Linked DNA regions of Homo sapiens: region 1 is linked to region 2. The links are contacts of gene promoters, found by promoter capture Hi-C in human tissues and cell types (Jung and others, 2019). All regions are on one chromosome and are shown on one strand. The core of a region is centred on a gene start or on the middle of the fragment in contact, and the rest is flanking DNA. Distances in the headings are between cores, read along the strand shown.

Region 1 (4,378 bases), core at 1,188-3,687, 140 kb after region 2:
AGCAAGAGGAATATATCATGATATATATTCATAAGAGCTATCTTAGTTGCAAATTTTCCCTGAATGACAACAAACTGACAGTACTTCAAGTAAATGCTTTACTGATAATTATAACTATCATTTACTGAGTGTCTCTGTGCCAGCCTGAGTGAGACTCTCAGGTATACAGTCACATGCCACTTAACAATGGGGTTATGTTCTGAGAAAAGTGGTATGTCACTGCGCAAACATCAGTGTACTTACAAATCTAGGTAGTATAGTGTACTACCTACATTACATGGTACAGCCTACTGCTCCTAGGCTCCAAACCTATACAGCATGTGACTGTACTGAATACTGTAGAAAACTGTAACACAATGGTGTTTGTGTACTTAAATATATCTAAACGTGGACAAGAAAAAACACAGTATAAACAATAATAAATGGTACATCTACATAGGACTGGAAGTTACTCTGGGTGAGCCCGTCAGTGATGGTAAGTGAATGGGAGAGCCTAGGGCCCTACTGTACACTTTTATATGACTAGCAAAGAAGTAGGGTTGTTTAGACCAGCATCACCACAAACACGTGAGTAATGCGTAGCACTACAACATTTTACAATGGCTACAATAACACTAGGTGATAGGAATTTTTCAGCTTCATTATAACCTTATGGGACAACTGTCACATATACAGTCTGTTGTTGACTAAAATGTCAACTGGCACATGACTATATTTCATTCATTTCATACACATTTGCCCCACCCTCCTGGCTGGAAAACGTAAGTAAACATTCTCCCCTACAGCCTCCTGAAGGAATGCAGTACAGCAACCCTAGAGAGATCCCTTTTAGTCTCCTGACCTTCAGAAGCATAAAATAATGAATTTATGTTGTTTTAAACCATTGAGTTTGTGGTAATTTGACAAGAAGCAACAGAAAAACTCAGACAGACATACAGATATTGCCTCTAAAGATTTTTTTTTTTTTTTGAGACGGAGTTTCGTTCTTGTTGCCCAGGCTGGAATGCAATGGCGTGATCTCGGTCACTGCAACCTCCATCTCCTGGGTTCAAGTGATTCTCCTGCCTCAGCCTCCTGAGTAGCTGGGATTACAGGCATGAGCCACCACGCCCAGCTAATTTTGTATTTTCAGTAGAGATGGGGTTTCTACATGTTGGTCAGGCTGGTCTCGAACTCCTGACCTCAGGTGATCCACCTGCCTCGGCCTCCCAAAGTGCTGGGATTACAGGCGTGAGCCACCGCACCCCGCCTAAAGATTTATTGTAAAGGAGGCAGCAAAATAATATTTTTCAATCCTCATAGCCTGCAAGGTAAATATCATGATCTCTGTTTTAATAAAGAGGAAACTGAGACTTGGATTAATAACTTGACCAAGGACATACAGCTAATAAGTGACAGCAGCTGAATTCAAACTCAGATCTGTCAGATCCCTGAGCCACAGAGTGGTGTTTCCATCACAGGCGTGATCTCATCCTGGGAGTCTGGGTCTGCAGATGAACTGCACGGGCTGCCACTAGCATAGGGGAAAGAAGCGGATAAGGGCTCCAAGACCCCCACTGTCACCCTCCCATGCCCATCCCTCAACCACAGCCACTAAGCCTTTCTATTTCATCATTGGGCATTGACACAAGGTTTCGCCTGAAGAGGCCCACTGGTTAAAAGCTCAAATGTGGGCCAGGCGCAGTGGCTCACGCCTGTAATCCCAGCACTTTGGGAGGCCGAGGCAGGTGGATCACGAGGTCAGGAGTTTGAGACCAGCCTGGCCAACATGGTGAAACCGTCTCTACTAAAGATACAAAAAATTAGCCGGGCATGGTGGTAGGCAGCTGTAATCCCAGCTACTCGGGAGGCTGAGGCAGGAGAATTGCTTGAACCCGGGAGGCGGAGGTTTCAGCTAGCTGAAATCACGCCATTGCACTCCAGCCTGGGTGACAGGGTGAGACTCTGTCTTAAAAAAAAAAAAAAAAAAATGACATGCACATACACATACACACTTGAACAATACTGTACAACATGGTCTTTCTCTGTCCAGGAGACTCAGTGCATCTCCTAATGGACTCTGTGTTGACTGTTTAATGGGCATGGGCATGGCAACAATACAAAGAATCCACACCCTTTACACTTAAAGGCCACTATGAAGCCTGACCTTCTCGGGCAGAGCAAGTAGCCAGGTCACCGGCCTGAGTAACTCAGCCCTGACTTCCGAGAGTACAGATGGCTTAGTCTTTAAAGATAACCAACCGTGAATCTATGTAAACATGATGCAACAAAGCTGGCAACCTCTGTGAAGAGCCAAATGGAAAGACAGTACGTATTTTTGGTTTGCGGGCCATGTGATCTCTGTGGCAACTAGTCCGCTCTGCTGGTGTAGTATGAACACAGGACATTAAGGAATGGGTGTGGCTGTGTTCCAATAAACTACTTACAAAAACAGGCAGCAGGCCAGATTTTCTGGTCCATGGGCCACAGTTTGATGACCACTGACTAAAAGCATAAAAAAAACCAGTAAGGTTACCTTTACTGTTGTTTATTGATTTAAGTCTCCTGTAATATAGGCACCCATCCTAAACAGCAAGATTGTTTCCCTTAGTTACTGGGAGGTAGGTAAGGATTTTGAAATCAAGAAACACACAAGGCATTGAGTAAGAAACAGGCTAATTATAACTTCGAGACACAAGAAAAACAATAAGTATATGCAAATGTGTCAGGTTGGTAGAATCTTTGGAATGGTTTAAAATAACTATTGTTTTATTGCTAAAGGAAATTAAGTTACATGTTTTAAGAAAGAGTATAAAGTTGAATTATGGAACTACTCCTATCCATGTAACGTTCTTTTCCTCAACAACCTCTTCTGCTGGGGATTGGCTATGTTCCCATCGATGTTAACTGCTCAAAGACAGATTTTCTCAGCAGCAAGATGCCAAGGAACCTGCACATGATTAAGCCACCTGAATCCCCAGAGAAGGAATCCTCAAGAACTTTCCTGATTACTACTGTTCTGGTAACTATGCAGGGGGCACAGAGATAGCCTGACATATAACCAGGATGAAAATGAGTCACACTGGAATTTTAGCAACAACAACAAAAAAAACTAAGGGATCCCTGGCTATGTTCTGCCTAAGCAACTTCCAGCCCTGTGCTGACCATCGTCTTGGATGTGGAGAAGCTGCCCAAGGCCAGAGCTTCCATTTTTCCTCTAGAGGAGTCAGTGGTTCACTGAATTCTCTTTCTTCCTGTTGGACTTGAACTGTACATGAAAACAGGTTATTTGGGAAATGAACTTAATACTTCCTTAACCCACTTCTCCAAGTGCAAACCACCAAGACTCCTTCAGAAATTACATGTGCTGGCTGACAGCAATGAGAAGCACCCTGCCCTGAAACCCAGGGATATATTCCCACGGGGACCATCACACGAACTCTAAACCTTGAGCCTGAACTTGTCTTAGCAATAGGGGAAACCACAATGGCTCTAACAATGAGGTGCCCACAACGGTTATCACATACCTTCAGCATAAACTCATGCACCGGCCTGCCGATCCTTTCCTCGGCCTCCACGCTGTACTCTCGTGCCAGGGGCACAGTGGGGTGGTAGAGGCGCCAGTGTTTCTCTCCCTCCAGCTGCAGGATGAAAACCTAGAGACCCACAAGGCCCAGGAGCATCAGAGAGCTTCCTGACAACTCACACACAAAGTGCTTCCGGACTATTAGCCCTCTAAGGGGCTAATAGACAAATATATAGGTGAACCTTGAACAACACAGGTTTTTTTTTTTTTTTTTTTTTTTTAGTTGTTATAGACAGTCTCATTCTCCTGGCCAGGCTGGAGTGCAGTGTCACAATTACAGCTCACTGCAGCCTCTCAAACTCCTGGGCTCCAATGATCCTCTTGCCCTAGCTTCCTGTGTAGTTGGGAAGCTGGCATGCACCACAGCTCCCAGCTAATTTATCTTCTTTGTAGAGATGGGGTGTCACTTTGTTGCCCAGAATGGTCTTGAACTCCTGGCTTTAAGCACTCCTCTCACCTGGGCCTCCAAAAGTGATTACAGGCGTGAGCCACCACGCCTGGCCTAACAGCATGGGGATGAACCGTGCAGGTCCGCTTATATGCTGATTTTTTTCAATAAATTATATTGGAAAATTTGGAGGAGATTTGCAACAATTTGAAAAACATGAAAAATATCAAAAGAATTAAGAATGTCATAAATGCATCAAATATAAAAACATATGTAGATACTAGTCTATCATCTACTACCATAAAATATTCACAAATCTATTACAGAAGGTTAAAATTTATCAAAACTTACCTATACAAATACTTCTAGACCACCATTTGCAGTCAAGAAATGTAAACAAACTTAAAGATGCAATATGGAATAGC
Region 2 (4,556 bases), core at 2,020-4,519:
CAGGTTTTGTGGGATCTGAAGTTTTTACAATTTGGAGGGTCCTCTTTAAAGAAAAAGGATTTAAAAGAAAATTAGATATAAAAATGAATATATTGAATGAAAACATAAACCATGCAAATTACTAATTTTAAAAGGTTGACTAGAAAAACAATTTGTTTTCTTACTAAATGCCTTGCACAATCACTTTTTTTCCTATATTTTTGGCAGTGTACTCTTCAATAGCCTTTCATATGACAATAATTTAGTAATATTATTTTCCATAATAATGAAAAGATAATGCAATCTTTCCTCTAGTTCTGTTTTTCTTATTGATAGAAAGGCTGTGTAAACATGCAGTACTACACACACACACACAAAGCTTGTGGTACTGCTACAGGTTTGTACCCTACAAACAAGAATTCTGATAAATTCTATTTTACATGGTTTACATCAACAAGAAAAAATGTTTTGTGTTTACAGTTATAAAAATTATTTTGGGTGGCTGAGACGGGTGGATTACCTGAGGTCAGGAGTTCGAGACCAGCCTGACCAATATGGTCAAACCCCGTCTCTACTGAAAATACAAAAATTAGCTGGGCATGGTGGTGGGCGCCTGTAGTCCCAGCCACTCTGGAGGCTGAGACAGGAGAATTGCTTGAACCCAGGAGGCGGAGGTTTCAGTGAGTTGAAATTGCACCACTGCACCCCAGCCAAGGTGACAGCGCCAGACTCTGTCTCAAAAAAAAAATTAAATATACTGCATTATTGAATATATTATTGCTATGAGAGAAATTACATCAATCGGAGGCAATCCTTCCTGTTGAAACTTTGTCTTCTGATGCCTGGAATAATTTTCCACATGACACCTGATGCTGCTTTACCTTTCAAATCTTGTCTCACCTCTATTACCCACATATTTTCAGTGTCAGAGACCACAGAATATATCTCCTCTGGCTCTGCATCTTGGGTGTAATACTTGGTGAGCTGCGCTACAAACAAATTGGAATTTAAGAAATAACTATACTTTGGAGAGGCTGGAAACCACATAAATATATTCCACTAAGTCCAAACTAAATATATTCCCAACTGAAATTCCCTAGCAGATTCCCAAATGCTCTTGATAACTCTAAGTGGAAAAGAAAATCTAAGTGGACATCTAAGTGGAAAAAAAAAGAGATTGTGGTCTTAATCACATTAAAACATTTACTTTTGTAAATTTGATAAAACTGGCCATGGATCCCATTGCTGAGTTCACACTGGAAGAGACTGTGCCAGCAGGGAGCCAAGAAACTTGAGCCTCATCGGCTTCACTGTAGATGTGCTTCTACTGCAGGCACTCACTAAACGTCGGGGAATAACTGGATCAGTGAATTAATGACACTGTGCTAAATTAGTATCTCTAAGATCCTTACAGCTCTAAAATTTGACATTTTTACAGGCTTCCTAATGCAATCTTAGAATTTAGTATTTAGAAATTTGTTCATATGAGTTCAGGTTATAACAATGTAGGACATATAGAAAACTAATAAGTGCTCAGAAAGCAAATGAAGGAAAATTCAATGGTCATTGTTTTATGACTTTAAGCTATTTTGTCATAGACGCAATTTGTCTTAGTGTAAACATGGCATTATTTGTATTTACCATTCACTTAAGTGCTTTGCTGTGCTACCGAGTGGAGATCAGAGTATTGTTAGATATATTATTAGTTAAAACCATAATTCATTAATTAAATCCTATTGACTCCCCCCCATTTTTATTCCAAGAAAAACTTCCTGAACGAAGTACCCTCTGGGTAGGCACTGGGGCCTGGTTTGATCACAGAACAAGTCAGGGACAAATGTGATAGTCATTCAATAATACGTTGGGAAGACAAATTATCATTTGGGCCTTTTAGCTGGAAGAAACAGTTTGCTTTATTACTCTCTTTGGGCTTTTTGGTAAGTGGGTCTTCAGTGGAGATTCTCTTATAAAATAATAAAGCTAGAATTGGGAACTTGTCTTATTCTAGTCTATTATCTTAGTCTTTTTCTATTTTCTCAGACTAGGCTCACAGAGAAATAGGAAAAATTTACCAAAGAGTAAAAAAGGATTAATCTTGAGGGATAGACTGAGATGAACCCGATTGATGGAAATCGGGCTGACTGAACTTTAATGGGTTAAATCCTGCCAGAACAAATGAGAATGAGTGTCTTGGCTCTATTGCAGTTAGTAGGAGCTGGAGGGCTTCTGGGAGGCAGCGTGGGGAGGCAGGGAGGCTCAATAGCCTCCAGCAGGTGCTGAAAGGACTTGGGGCTTATAGGTATGCAATCTACTTATGAGCAACCTTCTCCTCCAGCACCCGAAAGCCAGAGGGGAGATTACTCCAAGGCTCCCCTCTGCTGTGGACATTTCATTTTTATCTCATTTACTTGTATACATTTTTTAATGAACAAAAGCCATATCACTTCCTTGACGTCTACTCCAGGGGCAGCTTGCCTTCAAACAAAAACAAAACACTTGGGGTGAATGGGCCTCTCAGTATCTCCTGTACTAGCTGCTATAGGGTATGAAAAACCAAGAAAAATCCATACCACTGTACTTAGACTTAAAACAAGTCTTAAGCACCCTTTGGTTCCCAGATTTCAGTGGCATCTGTGTAACGACTGCAAAATATGTTGCAGCATTGACAAGCTTGAAATCATACTTTTTGATCAGTGCCGTTTTTGAAAGAGTTCGCAGGGAAGTATGGCGTGTGAAAAGTCTGAAGCACAGCGCGGTTAGGAAAAGTCACACCACAGAAAGCCAGCAGAACGCGCCGGGAGGTGGTGACCGCCTGACAGGTACCCCCTTCTCCCTCCCGCCGCCCGGTTCTGTGCTAACGCGACTTTCGCCCTCAGGGTTGGAGCTGTATTTGCGGTAGCTGTTTCTTAGCTCCCAGCAAGTCCGGGGCGCCCCGGTACTGCAGTTTGCCAAGTGTTTTCACAAACCTTAGTTCATAAACCTCTTTCAAAAGCCCGAAGAAAACCGTTTCTGTGCTCTGACTGTAGAATAGAAAACACAACGGTCACAGAAAGTAATTGAAGGCAAAGCCCAACAGGCTGCAGCCTGAACTTGTTTGAGCCGTAAGCCCGAGCCTAGCGTCGCACGCTGGGCGACTCCCCTCAGGCTCTCAGGCCGGCGCCTTCGGGGGACCACGTAGCGCCCCAGCGGTGGCGGCTGCGCCCGGCTCAGGGCGGTGCCGCGGCCACTGGCTCCTCCTCGGGGTGGGGCGGGCCGCGCCGGGCGAGGGCGGGAGGAGGAGCAGCCGCAGCGGCGTGAGGAGCTGCCGCGCGAGGAGCGCGTCGCGTCCGCACTTCTCCTGCCCGAGAGAGACTGAGCCGCGCTGGCAGCTCGCGTCGAGTCGGTCTGCCCTAGCCGCATCCCGCGGCGCCCGGTCGGGCTCCGGGCACCAGGCAACACCTAGGCCGTTCCCTTCAGACAGCCCCGGGCCAGCGGCCCCCTCGGGAAATGTCCAGCGGCCGCAGAAGGGGCAGCGCCCCCTGGCACAGCTTCTCCCGGTTCTTCGCTCCCCGAAGTCCTTCCCGGGACAAGGAAGAGGAAGAGGAGGAGAGGCCGGGGACGAGCCCGCCTCCAGCTCCAGGCCGGTCCGCTGCCAGGTGGGAGTCGAGGAGGGGGTCGCGGGGGGGCCCTGCACATATTCGCGGGATGAAGGCTCCCGGCCTGACCGCCGGCAGCGGGCCGCTCTTGGGCCAGGCTGCAGTTCGCTCGCCACTTTCTGTTCTCCTTCCTCCATTGCTAAAGTTTCCTCCTCCTTGCCCCGTTCCCGTGCCGCACTACTCGCCTCTCCTCTGCAGGTTAAATCGGGGTGAAGTTCTTGCCCGGCAGCCGGACGCATATCCCCCGATCCCCGCCTGGCTCCGCGCTCTTCCTTTCCCACTTTCCCCTGCCCGGACGTGATTGGGTTCCCGTTCCACACACGCTCTACTCTCCAAGTTCTGTGGCAAAAGCGATTTCCCCGGCGTCCCGCCTGCAGTAATGGGAAACACTTGTGAGCCGAGCGGAGCCGTCGGCCAGGGGAATTGGGGGCGCGATCCCAGCACCACTTGTGTGGGAGGAGATCGGGGCAAAAGTGGAAAAGGTAAAGCTTTGGGGCGTCACCCCCTCAGCTGGTATTTTTGCCATCTTATTTAAATTTTCTCAAAATGATTTTTAAAAGGAATTGTGATAATGCGTTCCCAAGACTTTCACCAAAATGGACTGGACATGTAAATGACGCCACCCTTCTTTATTTCTCATCTCTCCTAGAAACATCTGCCTCAAGTTCCCAAACAGATTCTGGAAATCAGGTTTCCAGCTGTCTTGGTTTCAGTAATCAAAATGTACCCTTTCTCTGTAATATTTTTATCTTTCCTTCACTTTCCCATGTTCAAAAATCAAAAAATTTTAGACATGCCTCATTTAAATGCCTGTTTCTGAGTCTTTTCATCCCCCCGAAGAAAGAGGGGTTAAGTAAAACGCAGCTCGCTTTCTTAAACTTATGAGAGGCTTACACTGTCTTCTCCCGAGATTGCACTAGAATGACCATTGTCATTGGAAGG

Evidence for each region. The method cuts DNA at HindIII sites, captures the fragments that hold promoters and counts their contacts. A contact is called where the count stands out against the background at its distance.
Region 1: a contact is called between a fragment that was not itself captured here and the fragment with the promoter of CRYBG3 in region 2, in 1 of the 25 tissues and cell types used here (hippocampus).

Annotation. Positions count from the first base shown.
Region 1 is chr3:97,955,545-97,959,922 of GRCh38, forward strand. It overlaps RIOX2 (ribosomal oxygenase 2), which reads right to left. Exons shown (of 10, transcript NM_153182.4): 4 at 3,507-3,635. Among named protein-coding and RNA genes, the nearest start is that of RIOX2, 15 kb to the right of the region's middle. The HindIII fragment of the contact is 6,932 bases long and covers 1-4,378 here.
Region 2 is chr3:97,818,742-97,823,297 of GRCh38, forward strand. CRYBG3 (crystallin beta-gamma domain containing 3) reads left to right here and starts at 3,270. Exons shown (of 22, transcript NM_153605.4): 1 at 3,270-3,614. The coding sequence starts at 3,466. It overlaps LOC101929298 (a long non-coding RNA gene), which reads right to left and starts at 3,035. Exons shown (of 3, transcript XR_427389.3): 1 at 2,946-3,035. RefSeq lists a silencer at 3,047-3,416. The HindIII fragment of the contact is 4,138 bases long and covers 1,504-4,556 here.